Linked DNA regions of Homo sapiens: region 1 is linked to region 2. Evidence: promoter capture Hi-C in human tissues and cell types (Jung and others, 2019). All regions are on one chromosome and are shown on one strand. The core of a region is centred on a gene start or on the middle of the fragment in contact, and the rest is flanking DNA. Distances in the headings are between cores, read along the strand shown.

Region 1 (4,340 bases), core at 1,335-3,834, 89 kb after region 2:
TCAGATAATTTAATAGAGGAAATATAACTGGGAGAATTAAATGCAAAAGTATTTAAAGAATTAAAAGCACACACAGCGGAAAGGGAGGCAACCCAGAGATTAGCAGCACAAGGAGACTGGAGAAACAAATGGAGAGGACAAGGGGAGGAATGGAACTACCAGCAGGAGGGGAAACCACAGAGAACATGCATCTGGGGCCAGAGGCTCCATCCAGCACAGAGGGAAGCTGAGGAAAGTCCCAGCTTCTCCTTTCCCCTGACTTCCCCAATCCAACCCAAAACCAGCAGATGGGGGCTGCAGGCCTGGTTATGGGGCCAGCCCCACTGTGTTAAGGAGCAGAGCATAAAACAGCCCAGAAATAGATCCAAGGGCAAGCAAGTGGACCGCACAGATGGCAAAGGCTGGGATTTCTCAGGCAAATGAGTCAATTTTTAGCAAATAGCTAAAAATGCTGTAACACGGTTGCCGTCATAAGAGCCAGACAGCAAAGAGGATGCTGTAGACACATGGTGGAGCATTTGGTGAGGCCCTGTAGTTGGTGGAATAATCCCCCCCAGCAAATGCCTTCACCCCAATCCCCTGTGGATATGTCACGTTATATAGTGAAAAGGACTGCCTGATGTGACTGAATTAAGGATCTGCTGTTGGCGAGATGATCTCTGATTATGCAGGGAAGCCCCATGGAATCACCAGGGTCTTTACAAAACAGATGCCAGAGGTCGGTAGGAGATGTGGCCAGAGAAGCAGCGCTCAGAGTGATGCAAAGGGGGCCTAAGCCCAGGAATGCAGGCAGTAGTCTCCAGGAGCCGAAAAAGGCAAGGCAGCAGGTTCCCCCAGAGCTCCAGAAGGAACCACGCCTGCCAACTCCTTGATCTCAGCCCCCTAAGATTCATTTTAGACTTCCGATCTCCAAAAACTACGGGAGAATAAACTTGTATTGTTTTAAGCCACAAAGTTTGTGGTGATTTGTGGCAGCAGCAACAAGAAACTAGTTAGTACGCATCCTTCATGAGGAGTCAGACTTAAGGAGAGAGGGGTGTCCAGATTTAGTGTGAACCAAGGGCTTACCGTCCTGGTGAAGGTGGTAGGTGCTCAGGTGAGAGAAAAAACAGAAAGGAAAAAGGAAGGAGAGGAAAGGCCAGGAAGGAGACTTACTTACCTGCTGGTCATGTGCATCCCAGAGGTAGAAAGGATTGGGTGGGCAATTGCGAGGCTACACTAAGGAGCCTTCAAACTCCTAGCTGAAGAATGTCTATTTTACGTGGCTGTTAGAGAAATATTAAACTCAGTAGAAATCTGGCCATGCATAAAGATCCAACCGCCACTGCCTGGAATGGAGTAATTGCCCAGCGACGCTGGTATTTGTGGTTAATCTGAATTATTTCGGCAAAGTGATCCTGTTTTTGTTTTGTAGATTTTTTGTTTTATTTCTTCCTGACCTGTATTGTTCAACACTTGCTTTGATTTTCCACTAGAAGACCTAATGCAAATCTGGATTTTTCTTTTCTTTCTTTTTTCTTTTTTTTTTTTTTTTTTTTTTTTACTAATATAAGGTAATTTCAGTCAAAAACCACTAAACGCTGATAAAAACTCTAGGTGAACTCTGTATCTTTTGATTCCTTTTAGCCTAATGGCCACTGATTACTGTGCTGATCTAGGAAGCTGCTTATTCGTTTTACCACCAGGCAGCCAGCATGGAATTCCATTGCATTGGTGTGCTTTGTTTAACTTTTTAAAACTCCTGATGTGAAGTCTCCTGAAACTAACCTTATTTTGTCTAAAATTACAGTTAAATCCACTTAATCCACATGGTTCTGTAAAACCATTGTCTGTAAGTTATTTTGATTTTTTTAAGTGCATTTGCTTTATTTTGAAAGCTCAGGTCTAACCAAATATTTCTCTAAGAGTTCAATTTGGAATCAAGGCTAACAGAGCTGACTGGAGGATCATTTTCACATCACAACCTTCTGAGTCCTGGGAACACACAATGTCACCATTGTCAACATTGACTGGTGCATTCGTGATGGACAACAGGTTGGTTCATTACTGCAAACAGGCCCCAATTAGTTTGCTAAATGTGTTGTTATACCTGCATATGTTTTTTTTTAAATGTCTCTCTCCAACCACTCATTTCACCCTTTCAAAATGTAAAAGATTTTATAACAGGTTCCCAAGGTCACTGATGGGCACAGTGTACCTAAGTTTCCTATCCCTCTTTTTAAATTTTTCTTGTCTCCTACAACCATTTTATATCAGTGATTTAAAGTATGTTGGCATTGAAATTGGTTAGCAAGTTGATCTTTAAATATATTAAATCAGCTTGACATCTTATGATTATAGTAACTATTATCACTATTGCTTTAGAAACATATAAGTGAATTCAGATTTTAACAATACACTTTGTGATAAATACAAAATTAAATGAGACTATCTACTGAAATGGGCGAAGAGAACTAGAAAGTACTAAATTACAGAGTCCATGGCCAAAAGCACAAGATGGCATATTTTCCATCAACCAACTCAGTTGAGCTTGGCACATAGTAGGAACTCAAGAAATACTTGTGTAATGAATAAATTAATGAATGAAAATGAATTAAATAAAAATTAATTGCGATGTGGAAGAAATAATTTATCCATGACATAAAATTGTAGCTCATACTCTTCTTGGCAATATTTGTGCTTATGGAGAAAAAAATAAAATAAAATAAGTAATCCTCAATAAATTGTGAAACATTCCAGCTCCAGATATGACATGTTATGACCTTTCCATTGCTTTTAACTTGAGCACATTATCTGTGGTGCAGCTGAAGCGCTCTGAGATCAGCTTTCCTTTCTGCCAAGCGAGTCACAGTCATTGGCAACAGGCAGGAGCTCTCAGATCTGCCATGAACAAGATTAACTGAAGTACAGTTCCAAAAGAGAACTGGAGACCACCAAACATACATGTTTTTTAGAAGAAAGCAGAGAAGTGGGGGAAATCTTGGAAAATCTGTTTTTACATCTGAAGAGAAATTAACAGGAGTAGCATGACAAGGACTGCTGAGATGCACAGAGGTAAATAAGAGCATCAGGGTTTCCTCATATTAGCTAAAGCTTTATGATCCAAATTCTCTAGGAACTGGGCTCCACTTTTTGACTCCTTTGGTTTTTTGTTTGGTTGGTTGGTTGGTTTTGGAGTTTGTTTGTTTGTTTCCTTGAGATGGAGTTTCGCTCTTGTTGCCTAGGCTGGAGTGCAATGGCGTGATCTCAGCTCACTGCAACCTCCGCTGTGCTGTCCAGTGGCCTCCGCTCCTCCCCTGCCACCTGCTTCCATGAGCTCATAACATTCCAATGGCAAATCAGTGATTCCGGAAGAGGAAACCAAGCCTCAGTGCCTGGGAGGCGCCTTTGTCTATCCAGGAGTGGCTCAACTCAAATTCCTTAAGAAATTGGGTGTCCATGGAGACTAGGTTAACTCCTAATTCCAGGTGGCAGTTTCTCAAGGAAGTTACTCAGCCTTTCTCATTTCGGGGAATTCACGTAACATGTTGTGTCTTTGGTTTTCCTTCTGATGCGTGCAGTTCTGAACAGTGCGTCCTTGAGGGAATTGTCATGCCTAGCTCAGACCCATTTTCACAGTTTTCTGCTAGCTCTGCTGAGTGACTCACGAACCTCCATGGCTCACCTGGGTCACCTCGGGCAACTGCTCCTCTGTCCAACAGCACAGTTTTGCTGCCTCTAGGCTGATGGTCACTCTGAGGGAAATGGGGCAGGAAAGTACCTGAATTCAGAACCACAGGTGGTCCCCGGTGAACTTTCACCCTAGGAGAGTTTGACATTCAAAGTAGAATATAAGCTCCATGACAGCCAAGTGCCTAGGACAGCCAGGTATACAGTAGAAACTTTAAAAATATATATATGTATACATGTCTAAATATATACATATTTTTATAATATATCAATATGTTTTTAAATATAATTATATATATAATTTTTGTAACTTTTCTTTTAATTTCAGGGGTACACATGCAGGTTTGTTACATAGGTAAACTTGTCTCATTGGGGTTTGTTTTACAAATTACTTCATCACCCAGGTATTATTATCACCCAGCCTATTATTACCCATTAGTTATTTTTCCTGATTGTCTCCCTCTTCCCAACCTCCACCCTCTACCCTCCTCTGCCCCAGTGTGTGTTGTTCCCCTCTGTGTGTCCATGTGTTCTCATCATTTAGCTCCCACTTATAAGTGAGGACATCGTATTTGGTTTTCTGTTCCTGTATTAGTTTGCTAAGGATAATGGCCTCCAGCTCCATCCATCTCCCTGCAAAGGACATAATCTCATTATTTTTTATGGCTGCA
Region 2 (4,781 bases), core at 2,227-4,726:
GAACATTGCAGAACAAATTGACTGCTTTAAAACACGATACTGCACCTCATCAGGTGAGGTCATTCATTTAAGGGTTTAACCTATGAAGGGCCTGGTCACTGACTTCTTCTTTTTTTTTTTTTTTTTTTCAAAAATACTGCCTGCAGCCTGTCTAGCAACCATACTTTTATTAAGAAATAACTGTACTTCTGATACATCAATAAGAAAAATATTGTTGTCTACTGTTAAAATGCAGATGTATTGTGGGCTTATTTTAATAGCCCCAAATATTAAACTACATAATCTTTTACAAATGAAAAAAAAAAGTTATCATGTCAGGCATTTTGATGCTTGAGGCCTAGCAATAATCAGTTTAGGTATTAGAATTCATCAATCTTTTATCACACACATTCAGAAATTTTTCAAAGTTGAGGTATAACAAAATATGACAGTTGTTGACAAAAATATTCTCAATTTTTTAAAGTTTAATTCAGATAGGTAGAAACCATTTACTCTTATATTTTTGAAATATGGTCTTACAAACAGGCATAGTTCCAAACTGGATTCTTATTTTATTTCAACATGTCTATATATTTTATGATCCTTTCCCCAGTATGTAATGAACACCATACCTTAGAAAACTGTTTAAAGCTGATTTCCCCTCCCCCCTTCAAAGATCCTAAAGCTTTACAGCAGGCTTTTAATGTTTTCATCCTTGATCATATAAAGAGAGGGGCATTTTTATACAAGACAGTTCCATAGCCTTCTGCTAGATTGGATCAGAATACGTAATACAGCAATGTAAAATATTCATTTGTGTTTGCTGTTTATGTCTAATATTGTGGAATCTACCTATATTTATTACAATAATGGTGATTATCAGTTGATTTTAAAAGTCTTGAAAATAATACTTGCAGAACTCACTATATGAGTACCTACATAATTTTTGCATATATTTTTCATATTGCAGAATATTTGAGGTTTCATATAATTGTATTACCATATATAATTATTTCTATGATTGTTTATTTTAGTTATAAAATGCTGATTCAGAAAAAAAGTCACACACACATATAGCATCTCTGTATCAGAGGCTAATAGTCTGTATCAGTATCATAAATTCTTCCATACCATTTTGTCATACAAAATGCTAAAACTGTAAATAAATACTGGCTGACTGACAACCAGCACAGCCTCTTTCATCATCCTGAAACACACACTTCCCAATGGGGTGCAAATTTTGTTTCTTCTTATAACCCAGGCCTTTCCAAGGAGTTCAGAAAGGTACTCCCTGACAGGCGAAACAGGGTGTCAAGGCTCTGTGTCTTTGGAACACATGTGTAGGCATCTCTACATTTCTTAGGAGGTCGCATTAGCAGAAGAGCAGAAAGGGCTGACTTCCCCGACACATCTCCGCATGTTCCCTAAGCACATCTGTCCCTGAAGGGAAATTCCCAGGAGGACACAGGACAGGTATGGTGCCCTCTGGGAAAGATGGGTGTCTTGTCAGAACTTGTTGCAATTCTTTCCTGCTAGGAAATCTCAAAATGAAAGTTTCAAACACTTTGCTTTAGGTTATACTGGAGAGCAAAGTATCATTTTCATGTTCATTTTGATAGTACCTTCTTTCAACTCTACCTTTTCTTAGTCACCGTTTTTTTAAAAAATTGACAATGCTCATGCATTTCTTCTGGCCTGTTGGTATGCTGATTCTTTAGGCACTGTCTAGGTAGGCAAAGAAAATGCACTGCCTTGCAGCCAACACACAGAGCTTCCCTGTGTGTCTTCCAGGAAAATCTTAGAGCCTCCCCTTTGCTTCTCGTATTTTCTCACAAGGGCCAGATTTCCTCTCTTCTCTTCTTTTACCTTCTCTTCTTCTCCTCTCTCTCTCTCTCTCTCTCTCTCTCTCTGTCTCTGTGTCTGTCTCGCTCTCTCTCCCTCCTCTCTTTCTCTCTCTCTCTCTCCTCTCTTCTGGCTAGGGGATTCTGCTTAATGGTTTAATTTCAACTGTCAGTAGGTTATACATTTTATGCAGATGTGTGTTCCAAAATTTGAAATGGGAATTTAAGCCGTAGCTACTCCCAGGCGATGTCAAATGATGACAATTTCCTCTGGTTCCCACAAGAGAGGAAGCCATTCATACATGTAAGTTCATATTTATGCGGTGACAGGCAGCCTAAGGTGCAGTCACACTTACTAATTGGGTCTGACTCAGTCAAGAGCAATAGCTTTCTAAATACCCAGGAAGAAATCATTTCAAAATATAATATTGGCTGGGCATGAGGAAATGTATGCTATTTACAATATTCACTGATTTCATTTTTACAACTATACAGGTGTTTTTTTTTTTTTAATTTGTCAACATTTCAGATGATGTAATGCTTATCAGTGCATATTTTTACATAAACGACTGTGAGGAGCATGAAGCAGCACGGGGTGCATAGAAGGACAGAACATTCTTAAAGCCCTCCTTGGTGCTGGAGATACATTGTACTAGCATGAAATTACGTGTTTGAAAAATCTCAAAAAGCATTGAATCTGAAGGGAGATGTTCCTCATTGACCCCTCCACTTGCGTGCACTTGGAATGTCACATCCCTTTCCAGGTTGTAATATTCAAAGTGGCAATCTTCCTGTCTCTCCTTCTGTCACCAAACCTGGTTTATTCTGAATGAGGCAGCTCTCTAGTACTGGAGTTAGGCTCTGAGCTGTCACTTGGCTAGGTAAGCGCCTTCCAATGATTACAGAGCAATTTCTCCCGGGCCTCTCCATTGCCACCTCTTCTCCCCCAAAAAATAAATATGATATTTAAAAAATAAATAAAAGCACGAAATTTTAAACACAGATGAAGCGGAAAAAGAAAGAAGACTTTACCCATGCATCCAATGCCACCCCCCACCCCCCCGCCCCCCCGGTCAATGATAAGGAAACGAAATTCATCACAAACCGAAAGGCTCACCATTCGCGAAGCTCTGGAACAAGGAGAGAGCCAGTATCCACATGCCCCTGCCGCTCCCCGGCCTCCCGCGAGCGACGCGCCGGCCTCGCCCCCCGCGCTCCGCCCGGCCCGGCTCCGCTCGCCGCTCGGCACCTGCCCGGGGGCCGCCGCCCGCCCGCCGCCCGCCGCCGCCGCCGCCGCTGCCTAGCCGCCCGGGCACGCGGCGCGGCCGGGCTCCGGAGCGAGGGCTGCGCTCGCCGCGCGCTGCGCTCCTGCACACCTGCTCCCGGGCGCCGCGCCCCACGCTGCGGCCGGAGCCCAGGTGCGCCGTCAGCTCAGTGGGCCCCCGGCAGGTCGGCAGGTGGAGAGAGCCGCAGACGCGGGCGTGAGCTCATCCCGGGCACTCGGCGCCCAGAATGCGCAGCCAGCGGCCTCCCGTGCGCCAGCCCTCACCCTCCGCATCCAGGCAGCAGGCGGGCGGGCAGGCTCATCTTTGCCGTGCTCCGGCCTCAGTCACATGGATCCCTCTGCCAACCTTCCCTGCCTGCGAGCCGGGCGAGTGAAGCCGAGCGCGGAGGCGAGCAGGGACCCCTCCCCTGCCTCTGGCCGCTGGGGCGCTCTGCAGTCTTAAAGCAGCAGCAGAGACGTGCAGCCGAACTGAGGCAGGACCGGGGAGAGCGCAGCCACCGCACAGTCACGCACAGTCATCAGGAGGAATTTCTTAGAGGCTTAAATAATCATTTCAACAGCTGCTTATTTTTAGTTATTTTCCTGCCGGTTGCTAATAAGGGATGGCCGGGGTGACTATTGCGGAAGGTGGCCAGCCACGGAGAGGTGAACATGAAATGCTCGTAGTTTTAATAAAATGTGCAGCTGGATTCCGATTCCGTATTTACTCTCAGAAAAGTCCAGTTCATTTGCTTAGAGGGAAATGCTCCTTCCAAATCCTTGCTGCTACTGTAAAGATCTCTATGATTTCACGGGCTAATTTTTAATTATCTTGAATACATGGTAGAATGCAAACACAAGCACTTCTAATTTTGCTCTCTGAATGGCGCATAAAAAAGCTGATTGAAATTGCTGATAATTTGAGTAATCCCAAACATATAGCCCCTTTCACGTTTCTGTGAAAAGTCAATATGTTAACATTTCCTGAATGTTCTGTATGATTCTTGAAGTCATGATAATATTTAAATTAAAGCTCTCACAAGGGCGTACATCTATCCATCACTTTGCAATATAATGACCGACAGGGCTGGAATGCACCCCAGTGTAGAAGCCAGGATGGAATGCTCACAGTCAGGACAATCAGGACTGAAAAAAAGCATTCGGTGGGGGTCAAGGGAGACATTTTCAAGGGAAATTGAGTAGGCTTTTTCCTAGGCACTAGGTATCCTAACTGGGCTCCATGTCCCCCTCCAAATACAGAAGAATGATGCACATCTCAGACAGCTCACAAAACACAGGAGAAGCAAATGGTGAGGCAGAAACAAAATGGTGCTTTACCAGGGTTGGGCACAAGATGGCCAGGCCCTGTGTACCAGGAAGGGTCAGCTGAGCCGGTGATGCTGCCTGGCTCACCACGGCTCTGCAGCTGCAGGTGATCACGTGCTGCCGCCCACTCAGGCTGCGCAGGCCCAGCCCCCAGTACCACGCACCAGAACCAGCATCCTCTGGCTTTGCAAATGCTGGGTGCTCAGTCCCTGGTCCTTCCCAAATGCAACCCAGGAAGGCAGGGGATGGGCCTGATTCTGTCCCTGCATCTGGCTGGTTGACCTATTCATTAATTCTTACTTGCACACTAGCCACCTGCAAGGGTGCCCAGGCACTGGGGTCAGGGAAACCCAGGGTCGAATTGCAGCTCC

The links. The method cuts DNA at HindIII sites, captures the fragments that hold promoters and counts their contacts. A contact is called where the count stands out against the background at its distance.
Region 1: a contact is called between a fragment that was not itself captured here and the fragment with the promoter of DSCAM in region 2, in 3 of the 25 tissues and cell types used here (H1 embryonic stem cells, IMR-90 fibroblasts and pancreas).

Annotation. Positions count from the first base shown.
Region 1 is chr21:40,933,523-40,937,862 of GRCh38, forward strand. No RefSeq gene overlaps it. Among named protein-coding and RNA genes, the nearest start is that of DSCAM, 89 kb to the left of the region's middle. RefSeq lists enhancers at 1,369-1,870, 2,786-3,985. The HindIII fragment of the contact is 8,381 bases long and covers 1-4,340 here.
Region 2 is chr21:40,843,682-40,848,462 of GRCh38, forward strand. It overlaps DSCAM (DS cell adhesion molecule), which reads right to left and starts at 3,477. Exons shown (of 33, transcript NM_001389.5): 1 at 2,938-3,477. The coding sequence starts at 2,980. The HindIII fragment of the contact is 24,098 bases long and covers 283-4,781 here.